Linked DNA regions of Homo sapiens: regions 2, 3, 4, 5, 6 and 7 are each linked to region 1. Evidence: promoter capture Hi-C in 16 types of primary human blood cells and fetal thymus (Javierre and others, 2016). All regions are on one chromosome and are shown on one strand. The core of a region is centred on a gene start or on the middle of the fragment in contact, and the rest is flanking DNA. Distances in the headings are between cores, read along the strand shown.

What was found. The method cuts DNA at HindIII sites, captures the fragments that hold promoters and counts their contacts. A CHiCAGO score of 5 or more calls a contact.
Region 2: a contact is called between a fragment that was not itself captured here and the fragment with the promoter of DCTN4 in region 1, in 1 of 17 cell types (naive CD8 T cells). The highest score is 5.0, in naive CD8 T cells.
Region 3: a contact is called between a fragment that was not itself captured here and the fragment with the promoter of DCTN4 in region 1, in 2 of 17 cell types (naive CD4 T cells and total CD8 T cells). The highest score is 5.7, in naive CD4 T cells.
Region 4: a contact is called between a fragment that was not itself captured here and the fragment with the promoter of DCTN4 in region 1, in 2 of 17 cell types (non-activated CD4 T cells and neutrophils). The highest score is 6.9, in non-activated CD4 T cells.
Region 5: a contact is called between a fragment that was not itself captured here and the fragment with the promoter of DCTN4 in region 1, in 3 of 17 cell types (total CD8 T cells, activated CD4 T cells and naive CD8 T cells). The highest score is 5.5, in total CD8 T cells.
Region 6: a contact is called between a fragment that was not itself captured here and the fragment with the promoter of DCTN4 in region 1, in 1 of 17 cell types (fetal thymus). The highest score is 7.5, in fetal thymus.
Region 7: a contact is called between the fragment with the promoter of CCDC69 here and the fragment with the promoter of DCTN4 in region 1, in 10 of 17 cell types (fetal thymus, neutrophils, naive CD8 T cells and 7 more). The highest score is 15.8, in fetal thymus.

The regions. Positions count from the first base shown.
Region 1 is chr5:150,757,466-150,760,513 of GRCh38, reverse strand. DCTN4 (dynactin subunit 4) reads left to right here and starts at 1,497. Exons shown (of 13, transcript NM_016221.4): 1 at 1,497-1,655. The coding sequence starts at 1,521. RefSeq lists enhancers at 1,422-1,721, 2,152-2,221. The HindIII fragment of the contact is 18,997 bases long and covers 1-2,384 here.
Region 2 is chr5:151,180,265-151,183,307 of GRCh38, reverse strand. It overlaps CCDC69 (coiled-coil domain containing 69), which reads left to right. Exons shown (of 9, transcript NM_015621.3): 9 at 1-2,256. It also overlaps the pseudogene PDGFRL2P. Among named protein-coding and RNA genes, the nearest start is that of ANXA6, 24 kb to the right of the region's middle. The HindIII fragment of the contact is 205 bases long and covers 1,514-1,718 here.
Region 3 is chr5:151,140,390-151,143,775 of GRCh38, reverse strand. The region is part of intron 2 of ANXA6 (annexin A6); the gene reads left to right. Among named protein-coding and RNA genes, the nearest start is that of ANXA6, 16 kb to the left of the region's middle. RefSeq lists enhancers at 1,955-2,164, 2,185-2,264. The HindIII fragment of the contact is 1,446 bases long and covers 926-2,371 here.
Region 4 is chr5:151,259,565-151,262,601 of GRCh38, reverse strand. GM2A (ganglioside GM2 activator) reads right to left here. Exons shown (of 4, transcript NM_000405.5): 2 at 2,686-2,847. Among named protein-coding and RNA genes, the nearest start is that of GM2A, 7.9 kb to the right of the region's middle. The HindIII fragment of the contact is 6,835 bases long and covers 1-3,037 here.
Region 5 is chr5:150,359,761-150,362,742 of GRCh38, reverse strand. TCOF1 (treacle ribosome biogenesis factor 1) reads right to left here. Exons shown (of 27, transcript NM_001371623.1): 2 at 1,532-1,587. Among named protein-coding and RNA genes, the nearest start is that of TCOF1, 3.6 kb to the right of the region's middle. RefSeq lists a silencer at 1-114. The HindIII fragment of the contact is 1,216 bases long and covers 1,031-2,246 here.
Region 6 is chr5:151,160,487-151,163,652 of GRCh38, reverse strand. No RefSeq gene overlaps it. Among named protein-coding and RNA genes, the nearest start is that of ANXA6, 4.3 kb to the right of the region's middle. The HindIII fragment of the contact is 7,646 bases long and covers 1-3,166 here.
Region 7 is chr5:151,222,408-151,225,876 of GRCh38, reverse strand. It overlaps CCDC69 (coiled-coil domain containing 69), which reads left to right and starts at 1,785. Exons shown (of 9, transcript NM_015621.3): 1 at 1,785-1,954. The coding sequence starts at 1,907. It overlaps LOC105378230 (a long non-coding RNA gene), which reads right to left. Exons shown (of 4, transcript NR_160730.1): 4 at 1,527-2,401. RefSeq lists silencers at 55-349, 1,833-1,912 and enhancers at 2,033-2,232, 2,253-2,362. The HindIII fragment of the contact is 18,522 bases long and covers 1-3,469 here.

The DNA.
Region 1 (3,048 bases), core at 248-2,747:
ATTAGCACTGTATAAGCTGAAAAGGTCTATATAAATGTAAGGTATTATTAACATCACCATATTAGAAAATATGCTGGAGGGAGTATACATAGGGGTTATACCTGCAAGCACTAGAGTCAGAGAGAAAAGGGTTCTACCTCCATCTATGAAACCTTATAGAGGAGTCACTGCACTTCCCTGTGCCTCAGTTTCCTGCTCTGTAAAATAGAAATAATGATAGCCACATGCTTTTTGGAGCTGTTGTAAGAATTAAATTAGACAATGTATGTAAAGTTTTGACACAGTGTGCTGCACTTAATAAGTGCTCAATAAATGTTTGCTAATAGTATTCAGTTCCCTTTCTTCTCAATCACCAACTCTAACGTCAGACAGGTAATAATACAACACTACTACAATTATAAAAATGTAGACCTGGTGGCAGGCAACAGAGGCTCCAGTTTCTGCTAGGCAGTTCTAGGTGGTCATTTTACATACTGGGGAGTCCCAGTTAGAGAAAGGGAGTCAGGCTAGTGGGACCAAGGGATAGCAAGAAGAGCAGATGCACTCTAAGTCTGCCTTTCTTCATGGTGCAGGACACGTAGCCCTCCTGTGCAAATAACTCACAATCTTCCTGCACTCAGCTATCACGAGACACATGCAAGTTAGCTCCCTGTAACCTTGGAGTTCTCGGTACTGCACAGCACTCTGCAGCCCAAGAACCATCGGATAAAATCTCCAGCAAGCCTTTGTTTCCTTGAAGTCAGCTCCTCTCTGGCTGGTCTGCCCATTGCAACCTTTCAACGTATTTTCATACCTTCTCTAATAAATCTGCATTTCTTTACCTAAAACTGTTGATAAATTATTTTCCCACCCATGTAATACCAGTCTCACGTAGTCGCTGCTCACCCAAGAGGCAGACCTGAGCCTTAGTTTACACATTAGAAAAACGTAGACGCCTACCAACATTGTTCATTCATTGATTTCATTCCCTCCTTTTCATACTTATTGAAGGTCCACAATACAGACTTAGACCTAACGCTAACTATGTACTCAAAAACCTGCGTTTCAAATGAGATAATGTATGTGAAAGTTCCCAAAGGCCATTGGCAAGACTCAGAAGACAGTGCTGGTGTGACTCCTGTCTTGCAGTCCCCACGGAGCCCTGTCCCTTTGAGACCTTCCATTTGTCTCCTGGATGCTCGCCTGTTAAGTGGGGCAGAGGAGGCCGTCGTAAATAAGACAAAAGATCAGGCTTCCATTCTGGAAGAAAAGAATAAAAGGAGCTCACTGAGTCCAGACCTAATGGCAGTAAGGGCAGTGGACGCTCACAAAAGCGCTGGGGGACGGGCCCAGAGTTGGGGAGAAAACAGGGATCCCAGCTGCGCACGCGCGCTCTGGTTTTCGACGGGCGCAGAGCCGGACGAGGTGGGAAACCTAACGTCAAAGTCTACGTAGGAAGTCGTAGGGAAGGCAGCGAGGAAGACGCTGGCTCTCGGGTCACGTGATGCGCCGGGAGCGTCATCGCCTCCTCCCTCCCCAAGATGGCGTCCTTGCTGCAGTCGGACCGGGTTCTCTATCTAGTCCAGGGAGAAAAGAAGGTTCGGGCCCCGCTCTCGCAACTCTACTTCTGCCGCTATTGTAGCGAACTGCGGTCGCTGGAATGTGTGTCTCACGAGGTAACAGAGTCGCCCTATAGCGAGTATGTGGGGTGGGGGGGGCGCGGCGTTCATGCTAGTCACTGCCACCGGAAGGCTGGAGCTATTTTCCTTCCTTACTGATTGGTTATGTCTTCCGTCACTCGGGTTTGCCTGCGATTTAATTTGCTTCTAATCTGTCACTTGGAAAGGAGGAGCAGCCTCGGGTGGGACTGAGCGGATCTTCTGGTTCTAGAGCGGCCTCTGATTGGACAAACTTGACTTAGGGACCGTGTCTGTCTGCGATGGGGCTTGGTAATTGGGTGGACTACGGAGAAAGGTCTGGGGGTGCTTAGTTCAGGCCACTTAAGGGGCGAAAAACTGCCTTTCCAGGATTTATTGCGAGGATGGAGGGAGGCGCAGGCGTTCTCATTCATAGTTCTCCCATCCTGAAAGTTCTGTTCCTCTTTTGTCCAGAAACTGGGCCCTCGTCAGACTGCCTTGCCCTGTTCCTGACTCAGGCCAAGGCCTGCAGCCGGGAAGAGGTTGGGGCGGCGTGAGTTATGTGAAAAGCGCTCAGAATACAGTATGTCATGTAAGAAGCTGAAAGTGTATTTATGGAGCTAGAGGACAATGCTGTCCTTCCCTGGCACAAGTGGGCGTCCGAAGTTGGATTTTTCAAAAAGAAGACCCCGGCCAGTAAAAAGTCACCAAATAACAAAACCCCAAAACTTCTGCAGCGCTTGGCACATCTTGTTTATTCAGTAAGCTTTAGGGATTAAAAGGCGAGTAAGACATAAAATGCGCTGTTTAATAAGCCATAGTCTTAGTGAAGAAAAAGCTGATAGTAGTAATAGTTGCTGCTTATTCGATACTTGCTATATGTCATGTGCTTTATGTAATCTTCAAACCAATTTAAGTGGATACTTTTTTTAAAAAATTTTTTTTACAGGTAAAGAAACAGATACAGAGTGTTCGCTGTAAGTCACACAGCCAGTAATTTGGGGGTGGGAAGGAGGACCTGGATTTGAATCTAAACAGCCTAACTCAGAGTGTTTTTTACTGAAGATCCCGGGACTGTTAAAATAAATGCATATGAAAACACATACTATAAGCCATTTTATGTGTTATTAATAACTTATTTTATTGAAGATACTTTTCATAATAGGAATAGTCAAGAAAAGCAATTAAATAATACAAGAAAAATCGTATATATTAAAAATATGGCATCGATTTTTCTTCTCATCTCCATTAGCACTTTCCTTATGTGTATCTCCTTGATGATTCCCTATTCCAGCTCCACCTCCAGAATTTATTGGATCATATTCTCCTGTGGTGAATAGAGTGCTCAGTCTCCATGATCTGTCTCTAAGACTCTCTTCAATTAGGACATCCAGTCTGTGACAGCATCTTTTACAGCCTGATGTGTACCTGT
Region 2 (3,043 bases), core at 367-2,866, 420 kb before region 1:
GGGTGTGTGCCCAGTGAGCCCTGGGGCCTTGAGTTACATGGAATCACCCACAGGGTTTTGGAGGCCCCGAGAAGCGTCTTCCCTTGAGTTGGCCAAGGGAATAAGCAAGAGGAGACATTTCCTCCCTGCCCCAGCACTCTGTCCCAATCCGAGAAGTTCCGAGGCTTTCCCAGGGGCAGTCTGTGTCACGCTGGCCATTTGACATAAAGGAGACAGCCCCTGGTCCCAGCTTGTCAGCTCTGCTGCCGACTTGCTGACTTATCAACTTCCTCTAGGTGTTTCCACTCCACCCTGGCCTGCTCAGAGCCTCAGTTTACCCCTGCATTAAAATGGTGGGGGGACTGGTCAAAGGACTCTTATGTCACTGCAGTGTCCCATTCTAGGATTGTCTGAAGGCCAGAGTAGGGGTTGGGGGGAGTGTGGACAAACCCCGCAAATCAGAGTGGGGAAGGTGAGTGGTAGAGAGGGGGTCTCTGAAGGCCCTTGGGGCTGACAGGGCCAGGCAGCCTCCCCAGCTGAGGCATCATTCCTGGGCCAGAGTCGTGTCCACCAAGGGACAGTAGCCAGAGCTCCTCTTCCTTTACCAGGCAAGGTGCATCCCCTCAGCCCTCCTGGCCCTTCAGTCTTGGTGCCACCTGGGCACAGGGGCAAGCTTGGTGGTTGTGAGTCCATTCATCTATCAGAGCTGGAACCTCATCCCTGCACAGATGAGGAAACCAAGGCATGGAGCAGTTCCCAGAGTCGAATCTAGATCTCATCTGTCATCCGGGTCTTATCCTTTGCTCTGTTTTTCTCTTCAGGCTCTGGAAAATCAGATCTGTGACTTAATCTTCCTCTCCCTGGCCCTCACCCACTTAGTTTCTTTTTCATTCCTGCTCCCTGCCTTAACTCCTCCTCCCACTGCCCCTGATCCCAGGCCCAGGCTTTTACAACCTGGTGCTCAGCTTCCCCATCAGTGAAAAGGGGTGGCTAGAGTAACTAACCTCAGCAGGCCGTCCAGTCCTGATAGTCTGTGGATTTCGGATCCTTCTCAGGAAGCTTCATGTCTAATGGAGACTATAATTATAACTCCTGTTCTGCATAGAGCATTTGCATCAAAGGCTTTCCATACCCCTCCCTCCCCTGGTCCTCATAAGATCCTTGAAGCAGGTTCCTATTCCTCATTGGCAACATGGCAAACAGATCACAGGAGTCAAAGGGCCTTGCTCAAGGTCCCCAGCTTCAGCCCCAGGCCCTAAGCCAGCGTCAGAACAGTCAATCTGCATTTTTCATCAGTCATTCTATAGTGACATCATCCCAGACTGCCTTCTGTATTCCCCTGTGTACAGTCTCCTTCTGTTTCTAGGTTTAGAAGTTCAGAGGTGACTGTGTTTCTCCATTTCCACAGCCAAATGGGGGAAGAGGTGAGGCTAGGGGAGTGCTGTGCTGATTCTCCAGCCATGGTCAGACAGGTCACCCAGGAGCCTCGAGGAAAGCCCTGGAGGGAATCACATGTGTACTTTTTCATGAAGCTTTTTGCAAAGCACATCTGCGATACACTAGTTTATTGAACTAATGTCCAGGAGTAGACATGATTGGTGGCCAAGTTATTTGGGGACACCTAAACAGATCAGTGACCTGAATGACTTCTCAGAACCTTTAATATGCCAATGTGTGTGGCAAACTTACAAGAAGGGAGCTAAGTATCCAGCCTCTCCCAAACCTCTTTGAACAAAGCTTCTGTCCCTCCCACACCTCTCACCTCACAGGCACATCAGGCTGCAGAATGCGCTTTAGAAAGCATTGTTTTAGTCCAGGCACAGTGGCTCACGCCTGTAATCCCAGCACTTTGGGAGGCCGAGGTGGGTGGATCACAAGGTTGGGAGATTGAGACCATCCTGGCTAACACAGTGAAACCCTGTCTCTACTAAAAAAATACAAAAAATTAGCTTGGCGTGGTGGTGGGCGCCTGTAGTCCCAGCAGCTTGGGAGGCTGAGGCTGGAGAATGGTGTGAACCCAGGAGGCGGAGCTTGCAGTGAGCCAAGATCGCGCCACTGCACTCCAGCCCGGGTGACAGAGCAAGACTCCGTCTCAAAAAAAAGAAAAGAAAAAAGAAAGCATTGTTTTAATTGAGAGGGGCAGGGCTGGAGAAGGAGCAAGTTGTGGGGAGCCAGGCTTCCCTCACGCAGCCTGTGGTGGATGTGGGAAGGAGATCAACTTCTCCTCACTCTGGGACAGACGATGTATGGAAACTAAAAAGAACATGCGGCACCTTATTTATGTGACTTTTGTGTTTTTCTGGGAGGGTGGGGAGGTGGGTCTTCACAAGGACTTCTGCCAATGGTGGGGATCTCTGAAGAGTAAATCTGGGGCCTGGGTAGCCCACTCGTGGTTCTGGGCACTCTCCTCAAGCACCAAAGCCCCACTGGCCCTTGCTTTGCCCTAATTGTGGATGTGGGGCCTGGGGCTAGGGTGAAGCCTGGATTAAAGGATGGCCTTCAAAATAGACCAAGGCTTGGAGTGAGGCTGAGGTTGAAGTAAGTGGTGAAAACAGAGGGATGGGGTGGGAGAGACTGCGAGGATGAATGAGAAGTCACCTTCTGCACTGCAGGACCCCTCTTTGGCATCAGAAACACTGATGTTCCCACAGGTACCTACCCCTGATTCTGCCTATTGCTCCACATCCAGATGCCTGTGGCCAGGGAGGGAGCTAGGAAGGGGTAGAGGAGACACGAGGACCTCGAGTCACGTGGACATGGGTGGTGGCCAAACCAGTGCCCTGAAGGTTGGTGGCCCAGCAGGTGTAGACACCAGCATCCCTAGCCCAGGTCCCCTCCACATACAGGGTGCCCTCTGCCTCCTGCTGTACCTGGCTCTCCCCGTGTACCACATGGGCCTGTTCACTGATGTAGAGTGGTTGGCCCAACGGTAGGGGATAAAAACGGACTGTCCATCAGCTGCCCCAGGTGCATCTCTGACTCACACACCAGGGTCAGGTAAGAGGCACCATTTATCTCTTTGGGGAAAGGAGAAGTGACTTGCCCAAGGTCACACTTCAGCTTG
Region 3 (3,386 bases), core at 399-2,898, 380 kb before region 1:
TGAAACATATTCAGTGAGTGCTTGATTGCTCCAGGCCCTGTACTTGGTGCTAGAAATGCGTCAGTGAGCAAGAGAGACACAGTCCCTGCCCTCCCGGAACTTCGAAAGGAAATATTTCCTGGGTCCCATGCTGCCCTTAGCATCGTATCTGCCACACTGTCTTGTAGTTGAAGCTGTCATGTATCTCTACCAGATTCTGAGTTCTTAGTGGTCCCTGGTCCTAAGCATCTACTTAGTAGACTCTCAGTAAATGTTGCTTGCTTGCTTGATTGAATGAATGAATGGTAGGGTAGCCCTAGCTGCCCTGGAATTGTGAGTATCTGAATGTGAGAAGCACTTAGGATGCTGTGGATTGGACAGCATTGCTGCCTTTTTATAGCCTTGAATATAGGGTCGAAATGGCATAGAGGCAAACAGCACAGGGCAATAACTCAAATGCTTCAGTATTCAAGGAGAGGGGCAGGCTGGCATGGTTGACCAGGAGGAAGCAGTGGGCTATGTGGTGGTTGTCCCTTCTTATCTCCAGCTCCCACCCAGATGGAATCTGAGGGGAAGGGAGAGATGGTCTGTTAGAAAGAGCCTTGGATTCCCTTCCCAGCTGGGCCTCTGACTTGCTGTGTGGTCTTGACATGTCACCTGCCCTCTCTGTTCTGGGTCTTCTGGGACACAAGTGGTAATAGACCTACCTTCCTCATTTAGTTCTCAGCTTGTGGTTCTCAAAGTCCTTTCCCTCTCTTATTCCAAGTGAGCCGTGGGAGGGACATCCTATGACTGAAGTGGATTGGAGACTGGTGCTGCTGTGGATTAGGACAGGTTGGTCAGACAGGTGGAAGGAAAAACAGCCATGAATCATGGCAACAGGCTAGCCTGCAGAGGGCCCGGACAGACCCTGGAGGACCTGCCCCTGGTGGCATCTTTCAAAGCTTAATATTTCCACACTGGTCCCAGGAGGTCCTGACATTGGAGACAGCATTGCTAGGGATCCAGTGCCAGGGAGGTCTCCCTTCACTGTCTTCCCCTTCGGCGTCCTCCATCTCAGAGCTTGGGCCGTCATGGGTGTCTCCATCCATTCATTTAGCCCAGTCACAGTTACTTCCAGCCTGTATGCCAAGCCTGTGCTAGAGCTGGGGCTCCACGGTTCTTCTTAGGCAGAATGATTTGTCTTATTCACGACAGTCTCCATTCTCCATGGACTCAATAACTGAGTGGGAAGCTGAACTAAAAGGTCTTTAAGGATCGTTGCAAAGAAATAATTTTGAGCCTCTGAACCTTCTTGTTTCCTTTTTTTTTTTTTGAGACAGAGTCAGTCTCATTCTGTCGCCCAGGCTGGAATGCAGTGATGCGATCTGAGCTCACTACAACCTCTGCCTCCCAGGTTCAAGTGATTCTCCTGACCCAGCCTCCTGAGTAGCTGAGATTACAGGTGCCTGCCACCATGCCTGGCTAATTTTTGTATTTTTAGCTGAAACAGGGTTTCATTACATTGGCCAGGCTGGTCTCTGACTCCCTACCTCAAGTGGTCTCCCGTCTAGCCTCCCAAAGTGCTGGGATTACAGGCATGAGCCACTGTGCCCAGGCACCTCTTGTTTCTCCATCCATCCTAGTAGCTAATATTGCCTGCTGTGCTTTTTTGATATCGCTGGACTGGAGGTGTCCAGAAAGAAAGAGAAAAGGATTTAGAAGTGAAATTCCTGGAGGACCCCAGTTGTTTCGTGTTCTTGTTCATTTTATTCATGTGGCAAATACTTGAGTATTTGGTCAATCTCTGTGCAGTGGGCAGATGGATCTGGTATCTGCTCTCAGAGGTTTCTGGATCAAACTGCCCACCGGGGTGGAGAAGGCAGCAGGAATTTCTCAAGCTCCGGCCGTGAGGTCTGAAGTAAGGCCAAGGGGAGCGCTGGCAGTAAAGCCCCCATCCTGCGCTCACTGAGCTCCTTGCAAGGCGCCCTGCTCTGGGTATTCGGCATGTGTTACTCTTTAAGTCTCTGCCCAGGGGCGTGATCAGGTTGCAGGGGATTCCCAGGTGGCAGGAAGAGAGCTGTGTTCCTTTCTGGTCAGAACTTTAAATAGTAACTCCACGCCGACGCATGCATACCTCAGAGGAGCCAGCCTCTGCAGACAGAGACCAGAGAGCATCCAGAGGCCTGGCCGGGGTCCTGCAGTGCAGACGTTGGGAGGCACGGAGACGGGGAGAGGGGGAGGCGGTCCAGGACTCACTCTGCTCCACCTCTGACTCCTTGAAGGCAAGATCTGTGTGGCCCACCCTCCATTCCCTCTTTTTTGGATTCTTTCCTGATTTCCCGCAGCTGGATCAGCCTCTGCTGTTTTCCCACATTACCTTATTTTTGTCTTAATGTATTTACTACAAGCTTTATAGTAATTGATGTGCTTGTCTGTCTCTGCCACTGGGCCAGGAGCTCGTGAAAGACAGGAATTGGGTCCCCTTTCTCCCCAATTCCTCAGCCATTAGTGTAGGGCCTAGCACAAATGAAGTGCCTTGTCACTGTGCTGTGTGCTCGGTGACAGGCTCTGGCATCCTCCACTCTGCCAGCTCTCAGCTGCTCTCCCAGACCCCCCACTTTTCAGTGCCATGTAACTGACCCACATCTGACTTCTCTGTGAACCAGTCCCATTGTGCATTCAGGTTCAGGTTCGATGTCTAAGATCCCCTGGCTCTCTGCCGCTTCTCTCCTTCCCCTCAAAGACCAAGCCAGCTTGTCCTCAGATGCCAGTTCACAGCGCAGTTTACTGGGCCCAGAGGGGCAGTGCCTTGTCTTGGCATTGAAATGAGAGTGTCTCTGGGCCCCCTGTGCCCAGGACCCCACCCTCAGTAGCTGGCACCTGCAAGGTTCCTGGAGCTGGAGAGCAGAGCGGGGCTGGAGAGCAGAGGGAAAAGGTCTGAGTTCTGTGTGACCTCCCACAAGTGGCTCTTCTTTGGGCTTGGCTTCTGTGATAGAAATAATCTTAAGAGCGTCTACAAATGGCTACACTAATGACATTCACAGAGGTGAAAGTGTAAACATAAAATGCCATAAAAATATGAGGGGCTGGCTGGGTGCACTGGTTCATGCCTGTAATCCCAGCACTTTGGGAGGCCAATGTGGGAGGACTGCTTGAGGCCAGGCATTCAAAACTAGCCAGGGCAATAGAGTGAGACCCCATCTCTTAAAATATATATATATATATATATATATATATTTGACTCTTGCTATTCTTGCAGGGATCATTTTCATCTCCTATACTCAGCCAGGCTTTTTTACCCTCTCCTGGATGCTTTGGAAGGTGGTGCAGGGCTGCAGGCCTTGGCCAAGCCCCCCTCCCTTGGGGAAATGGCACTGTCCTTTGGGCGGGTTGCAGCAGGTGGTATGGGAAAGTCATCCACACCG
Region 4 (3,037 bases), core at 178-2,677, 500 kb before region 1:
AAAGGCTTGGTAGGAGGTGCAGGGGAGCTGAAAGCTGCCACATATCCAGGACTTGTGTCTGGGTCAAGAGACTGCAGGATAAGACAGATACTAATCGAAATGTTCACAAGATATAAAATGTACTGAGCATGTCCTGGGTGCCAGGCCCTGTGCAAAGCACTTTCCACATGATTTTCTAACTCAGGTATTGCTCAAGGAAAGCCCATAACGTAGGAGCTGTGATTAAGACAGGTCTAAGGATAATGATAGAAACACAGAATCCAAATCAGGAATCTTCTAAATAATTAACACAAAACTGGTACTAGAATAGATCTGGATCAGGAACAGACTGAAGGGCATAGAGGAGCATCATATAAAGGTAGCAATTTTAGCTAGAGAGGAAAGGACCATATTAAATGGTGTTGCAATGGATATATGAAAAGTCTTCATTGTTTTCTAAGAAAATATAAAAACATACACCCCTAAAATAGTCAATGGATGGAAACAAACAGGTTATTCCCAAAGTAAATACAAAAGGCAAATAAACTTATGAATAGACATCTACGCTCACTAGGAATGATGCAGGTTTATTCAAACATTGGGAGGCACTTTGGCAAAATGTATCAAAAGACCTAAAAAGTGTGTATCTAGAGAATCAGAAAATTATAAAAAGATGTACTATAAGAATAATTTCTACAAAGGTGGTTACTACAGCAAAACAAAAAACAAACAAACAAAAAAAACCCTCTGGCCAGGTACAGTGGCTCAAGCCTATAATCCCAGCACTTTGGGAGGCTGAGGCAGGTGGATTGCCTGAGGTCAGGAGTTCAAGACCAGCCTGGATAACATGGTGAAACCCCATCTCTACTAAAAATACAAAAAGTAGCTGGGCATGGTGGCAGGTGTCTGTAATCCCAGCACTTTGGGAGGCCGAGGCAGGCACATTGCCTGAGGTCAGGAGTTCAAGACCAGCCTGGCCAACATGGTGAAACCCCATCTCTACTAAAAATACAAAAATTAGTGGGGCGCAATGGCAGGTGCCTGTAATCCCAGCACTTTGGGAGGCTGAGACAGGAGAATCGCTTGAACCCGGGAAGTGGAGGTTGCAGGGAGCTGAGATTGCGCTACTGCACTCCAGCCTAGGCAACAGAGTAAGAACCTGTCTCAAAACAAACAAATAAACAAACAAACAAATAAAAACTACCCTGGAAACAAACTAAATGTTCAACAATAGACTTGTTATATAAATTATGAAAGATCCACATCAGAATATTTCTGCCATTAAAAATGATTGGGTGGGCTGAGCAAGGTGGCTCACGCCTATAATCCCAACATTTTGAGAGTCTGAGGCAGGAGGATTGCTTGAACTCAGGAGTTTGAGACCAGCCTGGGCAACACAGGGAGGCTCCGTCTCCATAAAAAATAAAAAAATTAGGTAAGCATGGTGACATGAACCTGTGGTCCCAGCTACTCAGGAGGCTGAGGTGGGAGGATCCCTTAAGCCCAGGAGGTCAAGGCTGCAGTAAGCCATGATCACACTACTGCACTCCAGCCTGAGCAACAGAGTGACACACTGTCTCTAAAATTACAATACATTAAAATAATAAAATAATGATTGGATAAAAAAAAATTGAATAAGTAGAGCCACCTAATCCTTGGAAAGATATGGACATATAGTATGAGGCAAAAAAAATAGCAAGTATAATAGCACATATCATATAATCCCATGAGTATAAGTGTGTATATATTTACAAACACATAAAAATTCTGATGGGATATATAAAGAGCAAACACTGACTATCTCTAGGATTTAGATTACTGGAGGACATTTACAATGAGCACTGCCTATTATCATACATATCCATTAAAAATAAATATGTGTGTTATGTATGTAATTGTATGGGGGAAAGTTGCAAAGAATATCCTATAAGATGTTAAAAGTGCTTATCCCTTATCACTAGGTAGTGAGATTTCAAGTGATTTATTTTATTTATTTATTTATTTTGGGACAGAGTTTCACTCTGTCACCCAGGCTGGAGTGCAGTGGTGCGATCCTGGCTTTCTGCAACCTCTGCCTCTTGGGTTCCAGCAATTCTCCTACCTCAGCCTCCTGAGTAGCTAGGATTACAGGCACATGCCACCACGCCCAGCTAATTTTTGTACTTTTAGTAGAGATGGGGTTTCACTATGTTGGCCAGGCTGGTCTCAAACTCCTGACCTCAAAAGATCCACCCACCTCAGCCTCCCAAAGTGTTGGGATTACAGGCATGAGCCACCACACCTGGCCTATTTTATTTATTTTTTGACCACTTGTGTTTTCTAAAGTGACTATATATTACTGGCTAATTGGTATATCAATTTTATAATTAACAACAAAACCAAATTGGCCAACCAGAGCTGTCAGACAATAATGAGCAGTTGGCCACCAGGCCCAGAGAAGGCCAGGACGCTTCTGCCAGGTGCAAGGTATCCGTCACTCCTGCCCTCACCAGGAAGTTGCTGGCGCTGACATCAGAGATTCCTTTCAATCTTATGATCCTGAGATTCCATGAACCTGTGAAAGAGTGTCTGAATCTACATGTCCTGTACTATTCTCTGGGAATCCAGGATTCTGAAATTCTTCACAGTTCCCCAAGCATACATGCCCCAGTACCCCTGCTGGCCAGACCCTCGCACCTCCCCTTCTCCACCCACCCCCAGGCTCACCTTCAGAGGAGAACTCAGGGGGACACTGGTGCTGCCCATGACACTGAGGGTCACATTTCCAGGAACGATGATGGGGTCAGGCTCCAGAGTCAGGCTTCTGATCACCGCAGGGTCCTTCCCTTCATCACAGTTATCCCAGGAAAAGCTACTGAGCTGGGATGGCTGGGGACAATCAGGCAGCAAGGAAGGAGAAGAAGAAAAAGGTTGACAAAAGAAACTATCACAGATCACAGGAAAAATGAGCTCCTGGCAGAGTGACCTTGGGTGAGGCACCCCCGTCCCTGAGCCTCATCTATGAGACTCCATACCTATGAAGCTGGGATAACACTTATCCTACTCATTTTATAGGCAG
Region 5 (2,982 bases), core at 389-2,888, 400 kb after region 1:
GTGCTCTAAGCTCTCCTTAGCAGCAGAGGACTGAGGGTTGGCAGGGTTTTCAAAGACCTTAGCTCTCCACCAGAGGCTGTAATCCCTTCCACACCATTTTTGCCTTTGTTTACACACCTCTAATGACAGGGAGCCCACCACTTCCACCTAGCCCACCTCATTTTTAGATAGCTCTGATGTCATTATATTCAGAAGCTGAAACCTGTCTTCCTGAAGCAGGTACATTTGGGGCCCACTTCTGTCTCCGGGGCCTCAGAGAACGCACTATTCTTGGTCCTCAAAGATGTGCAGTGGTCCCTCACACCCCTCTCCTGCCTCCTTTCCATCCAAGGCAATTCAGTACTCTCTACCATTCCTCATGGGATATGTCTGCATGTCCTTCACTCCCTTAGTCAGCTGTGGTCAGGCCAGTGCATGAAGAGAACACAATTACTCTCTCCATTTTCCAACCATTCCTCTGTTGATATATCCTTGGATGATTCCCCCTTCCTTGAAGAGTACATAAATTTTACATGTTTAAAAGGCATCTCACACTCAACATGTCATTGAAATCTTTCCCCTCCAAACTGAGTTCCCTTCAAGCTCTATGCATGGGTACACAAGTTAGATGTGGAGTCAATAAGATACTTCCTCTCCCACCCATCCACAGGCCCTGGTTTCATCCCTATGATTCTTGGGAATCCACTTTCTACCCTGTTCTCCCTGTGTCAAGCCCCATCAGCTCTTGCCTGGACGATGGTGACCATGGCCCCACCAGTCTCACCATGGTGCAGAGCAATCTCCTCACTTTTTCACCCTACCATGGCCCCACTGCTCTTGGATAAAGACAAAATTCCTCACCATGGATAACCAGCCCATGCATGGCTATCCATGCGATGACCTAGCCCCATCTGTACTGTCCACCAGCCACAGGACTTAGCATTAGCAATTTCCACTGGCAGGTACACTCCACCTGCCACTCTCTACCCACTGCATAGTTCACTCCTCCAATTCCTATAGCTCTCAAGTCAAAGATCACCTCAGGGAAGCTTCCCCTGGACCCCCAGATGAAGCCAGACTTACCCATTTATGTGGCTGTGGCAACAGATTCCTCTCTTTTGTAATCCTTACTACCACTGTAATTTAACATTCATTTGTTTCATTCTTTGACTTATGCCTACCTCCTTGGCTACAATGTCAGCTGCAGGAAAGAAGGAACCATGTCTGTCTCACTTGTGACAATATTTGCATACTAAGTAAGAACAGGACTTGGCTTTCAGGAGGTGCTCAATATACGTTTGCTGAGCAACTGACAAGCTGGTGAGAAGCTCTTGTTCTTAAGAGATCACAGCTCTCAATGTCCCCTCCCACTACCAGATATCCACACAGAAATACCCATCCATGTGATGTGAGCTGGCTTTCTGGAGGCAACAATGGTGTCCACAGTGGGCTATGGGGACAGATCTTAGACCAGATAGGTATCCCAGCTTATTCCAAGCTGAGTTGCTTGGGGTGTCCGTCCCTACTCCACCCTATAGGCCCCACCACTTACTGTTGCCAGTGTGTATAGATGTCCAGAAGGGTTACGGGCTGAGCCAGGAAACACTTCTGCAGAGAGGTAAAGAGAAAGCCACAATTAATCCCCAGCACAGTAAGGATCCTTCTTGGGCCCAGATCTCCCCAAACTCATGACTTGTATAGACAGGTGGTTCAGAAGAGGGTCTTTTTGGCTGGGCATGGTGGCTCATACCTGTAATCTCAGCACTTTGGGAGGCTGAGGCAGGAAGATCACTTGAGCCCAGGAGTTCAAGACCAGTCTGGGCAACATAGTGAGACTGTCTCTATAAAAAAATTTAAAAATTAGCTGAGAATGGTGGCATGCACTGGTGGTCCCGGCTACTCAGGAGGCTGAGGTGGGAGGATCACTTGAGCCCAGGATATCGAGGCTGCAGTGAGCCATGCTTGTGCCACCGCACTCCAGCCTGGGCAACAGAGCAAGACCCTTTCTTTAAAAAAAAAAAAAAAAAAAAAGAGGGTCTTTTTGCTCTGGGAAGTATGTCTGCTTGGCCCTGCCAGTTCTGTCCCAAACCTTCCAGAGACAAGAAGAACAACCAATCCCAACTAAAACCTTTTTAGACAACCCCTTTGAAAGGCCAGAGGTGGAATGTTCCAAGCTAGCATTCATCCAGCTCCCAGCCTCTCTGGCACTATCCATGCCTAGAGGCCATGAGACAGGGTTTTCCCCACCTTTGACCTTTAAAAAAGCTTTCAAAGACGTGGCCAGCCAATCTTCCCAAAGCACGAATCACAGCCCAGACACCTGAGGCATCCAGGTGGCATGACCACAGTCTACTAGTCTGCTGGGAGAAGACTGGGCCCAAATGGTACCAGTCCCTTGGTGGAAGCAGAGGGAACCAGGTGGAATCCAGGCCTTTGGAGCAGAGGCCAGAGGGCCCAATGTCTCTGTAAATGTCAATAAGCCAGGATATCAAGTACTCTAATGAGGCTAAGCAATGTGGGGCACGGGTGGACTGAACTAATCTCGTCACGTCTTCGAACTTCAGATTTCTTCTTAACATGGGGACAACAGCGATACCTACCTTGCAGGCTGCTATCTGGTTTGAACAAGACCATCTGTCAGTGCCCAGCAGTGAGCCGGTAACACTAAGATTTCAAGAGTCAGTTTCCCTCTGCTCCACCTCAGGCAAAGTGTCCTCCTTGCTGTCCTCAAATGTGTCAGGCCACCCTGCCTCTAACGCGGCCTTGCTATTCTTCTTGTCTGGAATGTTCTCTCCCCTGTTAACTACACAGCTCACTCCCTCATTTCCTTCAGGTCTCTGCCCAAATGACACCTTCTCAATGAGACTTCCTTGACTACCCTACTTATAATCGAAGTCTGACATCCCTTATCCCCCTTGCCTGCCTTTTATAGCAAGCACCAACTATCATTGGATATACTATATCATTAACTTATTAAACTTTTTCTATTTGTCACCTGTCTGC
Region 6 (3,166 bases), core at 325-2,824, 400 kb before region 1:
GTCTCTACCAAAAAATGAAAAAAATTAGCTGGACGTGGTGGTGCACACCTGTAGTCCCAGCTACTCCGTAGGCTGAAGCATCAGGATAGCTTGAGCCCAGGAGGTTGAGGCCGAAGTGAGCTGAGATTGTGCTACTGCTCCAGCCTGGGGGACAGAATGAGACCCTGTCTCAAAAAAAAAAAAAGAATGAAAAAAAAAAAGTTGGGCATGGTGGCTCACATTATACCAATGCTGGTGTAATCCCAGCATTTTGGGAGGCTGAGGCAGGAGGATGGCTTGAGCATAGGAGACCAGCCTAGGCAAGATGGTGACACGCCATCTCTACAAAAAATACAAAAATTAGCTGGGCAGGTGGCATACACCTGTAGTCTCAGCTACTTGGGAGGCTGAGGTGAGGGGATCACCTGATCCTGGGGAGGTCAAGGCTGCAGTTGAGCCATGATCACACCACTGCAGTCCAGCCTGAGTGACAGAGTGAGACCCTGTCTCCAACAACAACAATAAAACAGTGTTGGGCCTACAGCTTCCTCTGTATTTTAGATTATTTTCTTAGGATTGATTCCTGTAAGTGATGATTAGCTCAAAGAGAATGAGCAGTATATTAGTGTTTACTCCTACTTGCTGCTGTAGCTCAGGAATTAAGGCCCTGGGCTCTGCAGTCAAGGGAATCTGGCTTTCAATCCTGCCTCAGTCACGTGGGCTGAATTTGGGCAAAGATCAAAAATTTCAGTTACTTTTATTGCAAATTAAGAATACAAATAGCCCTGACATTTGTACACTACAGCCCATTCTGTCTCCAAACATTGCTGCAGGAATTCTCCCTTCTCTCTCCTCCATCAATTTTTTTACCTTCTATATGATAACTCCCACCAGCATACAAATATGCTGTTATGTCTTCAATCTTTAAAAAAATCAAACAAAAGCCCTTCTCTTGACACCAATTCCCTTGCCAGACACTGCCTCATTCCCTTGCTGGCCTTCGCAGCAAAACTCCCAGAATAAGTAGTTTAGGCTTTTTATCTTACACCGTTCCCATCAGGCCTTTACCCCCAACATTCTGCAATTCACAGCAAGAGATAAGTTGGCTTTCACATTGCTAAACCCAATGATAGATTTGTAGACCTTGTCCTACTTTACCTAAAAGCAGCATTTGACACACCTGATCACTCCCTTATTTTTCACTTTGCTGCCACATTCTCCTGGGGTAGTTTCCTCCCATCTTACTACAATCTCCTTCCCAGTCACCTTTGCTGAATTCTTTTCTTCTCCCCAACTCTTTTATTTTATTTTTTGAGAGTCTCACTCTGTCTCTCAGGCTGGAGTGCAATGGTGCCATCTCACTGCAATCTCCACCTCCTGGGAGTGATTCTCCTGCCTCAGCCTCCCAAGTAGCTGGGATTACAGCATGCACCACCACGTCCAGCTAACTTTTTGTATTTTTAGTAGAGATGGGGTTTAACTATGTTGGTCAGGCTGGTCTTGAACTCCTGGCCTCAAGTGATCCACCCACCTCAGCCTCCCAAAGTGCTGGAATTACAGGCATGAGCCACCGGGTCCGGCCTCTCCCCAAATGGTAACATAAGAGTGTCTCAGACTCGGTCCTTAGCATCGTGGGTGATCAGCAACTATTTGGGGCTGGCGGTACAGGCAGTAAGAAGAATTTACCAAGGCAGTTGTAGGTAAAGAAAGGCAGATTTATTAGAGAAAGTATGAAAATACATTGCTGCCAGACGTGGTGGCTCATGCCTATAATCCCAGCACTTTGGGAAGCCGAGGTGGATCACGAGGTCAGGAGTTTGAGACCAGCCTGATCAACATGGTGAAAACCCATCTCTACTAAAAATACAAATATTAGCCAGGTGTGGTGGCACGCACCTGTAATCCCAGCTACTCAGGAGCCTAAGGCAGAAGAATCGCTTGAACCCGGGAGGCGGAGGTTGTGGTGAGTCGAGATAGTGCCACTGCACTACAGTCTGGGCGACAGAGTGAGACTTCATCTCAAAAGAAAAACAGAAAAGAAAAGAAAATACGTTGCAAGGGTGCAACGGGCAAGTTAGCAAAACAGAAGCTAACTGCAAGAAAACAAAATCTGGCTAAGGATTTTATAGGATGGTGCTTGTGCTGTGTGCTGAAGAGGGCTTTGTGCAGTACTGATAACATCAAGGGTGCAGGGAGCTTGCGTGCATTTTTCTATCAGGTGAGGGTCTGGCAATAGCTGGGCGCAGATAAGATTGTGAGTTATTCGCACAGGAGGGCTATGCATCCTGGGCCATGAAGAAAGGCAGACTTATAGCTTATCTGCTTTCTCTTTTTGCTTTCCCTTGGTCCTGCCAGCCTGACTCCTTTTGCCGAACTAGGACTCCATATTTAGTTCTCTTCTCCCTTAAGGATCTCATCTCTTGAACTCCAGACTTGACTAGCCAACTGCGTACTTGACATCTCCTGTTGGGTGTCTAATAGAAATGTTCAACAAACTGGTCAAAAACTGAACTCCTGATCTTTTCCCCACTTCTAATTCCCAAAATTGCTTTCCCTGCAGTCTTGCTCATTTCAGTTGATGGTAACTCCATCCTTCCAGTGGCTCAGGCCAGGATCCCTGAAGCCATTCTTGACTCTTTCTCATCTCCCACCTGATCCTTCGGAAATCATGTTCAACCTTCAAATACATCCCATCTCCAACCACTTCCCCCACCTGCATTTATACCAGCCTGTCTCTTGCCTGGATTACTGCAAAATCTCCTAGCAGATCCCCTTCTTCTACTCTTCCCCCAACAGTATTCAGTATTTCCAACACAGGAGACTTCAGTGACCCTTTAAAAAATATGTCTTGGCCAGGTGCGGTGGCTCACACCTGTAATCCCAGCACTTTGGGAGGCCAAGGCAGGTGGATCACCTGAGGTCAGGAGTTCAAGACCAACCTGGCCAACATGATGAATCCCCGTCTCTACTAAAAAAATACAAAAATTAACTGGGCATGGTAGCAGGTGCCTGTAATCCCAGCTATTTGGGAGGCTGAGGCGGAAAGAATTGCTTGAACCCACGAGGTGAAGGTTGCAGTGAGCCGACATGGCACCACTGCACTCCAGCCTGGGCAACAGAACGAGCCTCTGTCTCAAACAAACACAAAAGTCTTATCCAGAATATAAAAAGAACTCATATAACTTAA
Region 7 (3,469 bases), core at 536-3,035, 470 kb before region 1:
TCCAATAAACATTGTTAATTTTAGTATAATTTAAGTATATCCTGTTTCTTCAGTACCTGTGGAGCACGTCCTATGGCAGGGGTTCTCAAACTTTAGCCCAGGCCAGACATGAGTGGAGTGCTTATGAAGCCATAGATTCCTAAGCCCCATCCCCAGAGTTTAGGCCAGGGGTGGGGCCCGAGAATTTGCATTTCCAACAAAGGCGGCTGGTAGTGCTGACACTGCTGATTTGGGAATCACACTTTGTGAGCCACCATTCTCTATTATACTTGCTTTTGAGAACCTAATAACACGTTTCCTTAGTTTCCTTTCTTACACACTTTTGCAATTGGTTTTGTACCCTATGGAGGGAGCAATTTTTTTGAGGTCTCATATTCTTTCCCCATTCATGACTCTAAGCCGTTTTCACAGCACACCTTTCCAAGAGTTTTGGGCCTGACTTTAATATTCCAATATACACGCAAATAGGCATACACACTGATTTTCAAAATTGGTTATCTTTTTCCTGCATTGCCATTTCAGAAACCTCAGCTAATAACAAAGAGAAGATAAACAAAAGCTCCTTTTCCTAGACACTGACATTTTATGTCCCATAGTCACCATACCTGGCCTGCCTCAAGAGGTTGTTGTGATGAATAACATCTATCCAAGATGGATAGAGTCAAATATTACAGATGCTTGTGAGGTGGAAAAAACTATCAGCCCAGAAGTGAGGAGGCATTAAAATTAAACTTAGTATTATTGGCCAGGTGTGGGATCCCAGGACTTTGGGAGGCCGAAGCGGGCGGATTACCTGAGGTTGGGAGTTTGAGATCAGCCTGGTCAAAATGGTGAAACTCTGTCTCTACTAAAAATACAAAAATTAGTTGGGTGTCGTGGTGCATGCCTGTAATCCCAGCTACTGGGGAGGCTGAGGCAGGAGAATCACTTGAACCTGGGAGGCAGAGGTTGCAGTGAGCCAAGATCGTGCCACTGCACTCTAGCCTGGGCAATAGAGCGAGACTCTGTCTCAAAAATAAATAAATACAATAAACTTAGTATTATGATTTATTTGTAGGCCATTGAGTCAAAGTTTAGGTTCTGGAGTTAGAACTGTATTCTGTGCAGTGGCTCATGCCTGTAATCCCAACGCTTTGGGAGGCCAGGGTGGGAGGATCGCTTGAGGGCGGTCGTTCAAAATCAGACTGGAAAAAAGAAAAGAATTTGGTTGGGTATGGTGGTGAGCCTCTGTAGTCCCAGCTACTCAGGAGGCTGAGCTGGGAGGCTCGCTTGAGCCCAGGAGTTTGAGGCTGCAGTGAACTATGATAGCGGCAAAAAAAAAAAAAAAAAAGGAACTGGATTCTATCTGGGCTGTGGTAACTTACTAGCCATGTGACCTTAGGCAAATCATGTTGCATCTCTGAACACCATTTTCCTCACCTGTAAAATGGAGGAAGTAATACCTTTGTTGCACTGATATGGCAAGAAATAGAAATAAAATGTATAAAACAACTGGGACAAAAACAGCCCTCAATGAATGATAGTTGTTAGTTTATCAAATAATTGCTTTAATTATTTTTTCCCCCGGCCCTTTCTTAGCTGAGGGTTCGGAAAAGCATCTGTTGCTCCTTGAGGTTTTCTTTTCTTCTGCCCTGACCAGAGCTTCCTATTATTTAGAAGGATTCTGGTCACCTGCCTCTGGTGGCGGCGCCGCTGGCCCTGCGGGCTACACTGAGGCCCCGCTCTTCGGGTATTTACGGCGGGCGGCCGCCCCAGCTCAGGCTCAAGACAGCGCTTCCAGGTTCAGTTTCAGGGTCTCGCCGGCAGCCCCAGCCGGCGGGCGCGGAGCGGGCAGCGGGGCCCGGATCGCAGGCTCCTCTGGGGGCCCCGGAGTTGGGAAGCGGCGTCCGGGAGCCCCCGGAGGAGGATGGGCTGCAGACACAGCAGGCTGAGCAGCTGCAAACCCCCGAAAAAGGTAAAGGGCGCCGGCGGAGAAGTTTGCTTTCAGAGGAGAGGGGAGTGCGGAATCGCTCCGCCGCAGAGGACTCGGCGCCCCGGGCTCTCTCTGGTCGGCCCGGGATACCGGACGGAGAACCTGGAGAGGCCAGCTCAGAGACGAGGGAGGCTCTGCTGGGAGGCGCCCTTTACCCCGGCCCGAGCCGCACCAAGCAGCCGAGTTTACAAACACGGCACCCGGGCCAGGGAAAGGCAGCTGATTCCCGCTGCCTCGGGTGGGGAGATGTCGTGTGTCTGTGGCAGGTGCCCTCTGCTTTCGGTCTGGGGCTGTTCGCTGTGTGGCCATGGACAAGTGACTTGACCTCTCTGGGCCTTCGGCTTCCTCCCCCCGGGGGTTAAAGGCTGATAATCTCAGGGCTGCTCGAAGAGTGTTCCACAGACTCGCAGTATCAGCATCCCTGGGGACCTGTCAGAAATGCAGAATCTCAGGCTCAGGCCCAGTCTTGCCAAGACAGAAGCTGCCTTTTAACAATATGCCCAGGTGATGACGCTTTAAAGTTTGAGGCGCTGGTCTTAGGGCTCTTGCAGGCCCCAGAGCTGGTGAGTGTGGGCTGCCCTTGGGGTAGCTGGGAGGGGCCAAAGAGGGAGGAGATCTACTGCGTTCTGTGGCCCTCTCCTCCCTTCCTGTCCTTCCCCCAAGGGGCCTTGGAGCTGGGTCAGGGCCCAGGGGACAATTCTCAGGTTTCTTGCAGTGAGACCAGCTGCCCCTTGGGGTCTGACGAGCCCAGAAGGTCAGAGCCTGGAGCTAGAAAGATAGCCTCCTCAGGGGACACTGTGAGGCAGAGGGGAAGAAGGACCCTCAAATTCTGGCCCCTTTTCTTACCACTACCTGCCCCCTAGCCAGGTGGGACTAGGTGATCCCTTAAACTTTATCATCATTCCCCCTTGAGACCTTGAGAGGCCCCAAACTGTGACAGTGTTTAATAGTTTTGCAATGAACTTTAGTCCTCCCTCTGCTCCTGCTTTGCTTGTGCCCTGAGTACAGGTTTTTCTGCCTAACAGTAGTCCTAGCCTGGAGGATTCTACTCCCTTCTCTGACACCTCCTGGCTTTCCTTGCTCTCCCTTTATTACCAGATTGAAATTCTCACCAACTCCTGACCTAGAAACCCTCATGTCTTTACTCACTCCAACAGGGAAACTGAGGCTTGGCTCTATCAGTAGAAGGAAGGGGCTGGCTGACAGGGATGACAAGGCGGAGAGACCTGAGCCTTGGCTGAGACTTGTAACTGAGCAAGTGGTAGGCAGACATTAGCCCTGGGTGTAAGTCCTGGTGGTGCCATAAACATACTGGGTGACCCCAAGCAAGCCCTTGTGTCTCCCTGGGTCTCAGTTTCTCCCTGTATGGGGAGTGATGAGCAGGATGATCCCTAAGCATCTGAGAGTCTGTGTTCTCTGCACCTGTGTCAACCTTGTAGCTTGCAAAGTGGACCAAGGGTGAATTCCATCTACCTAGAGGTGGAGGAAACGGGGAAG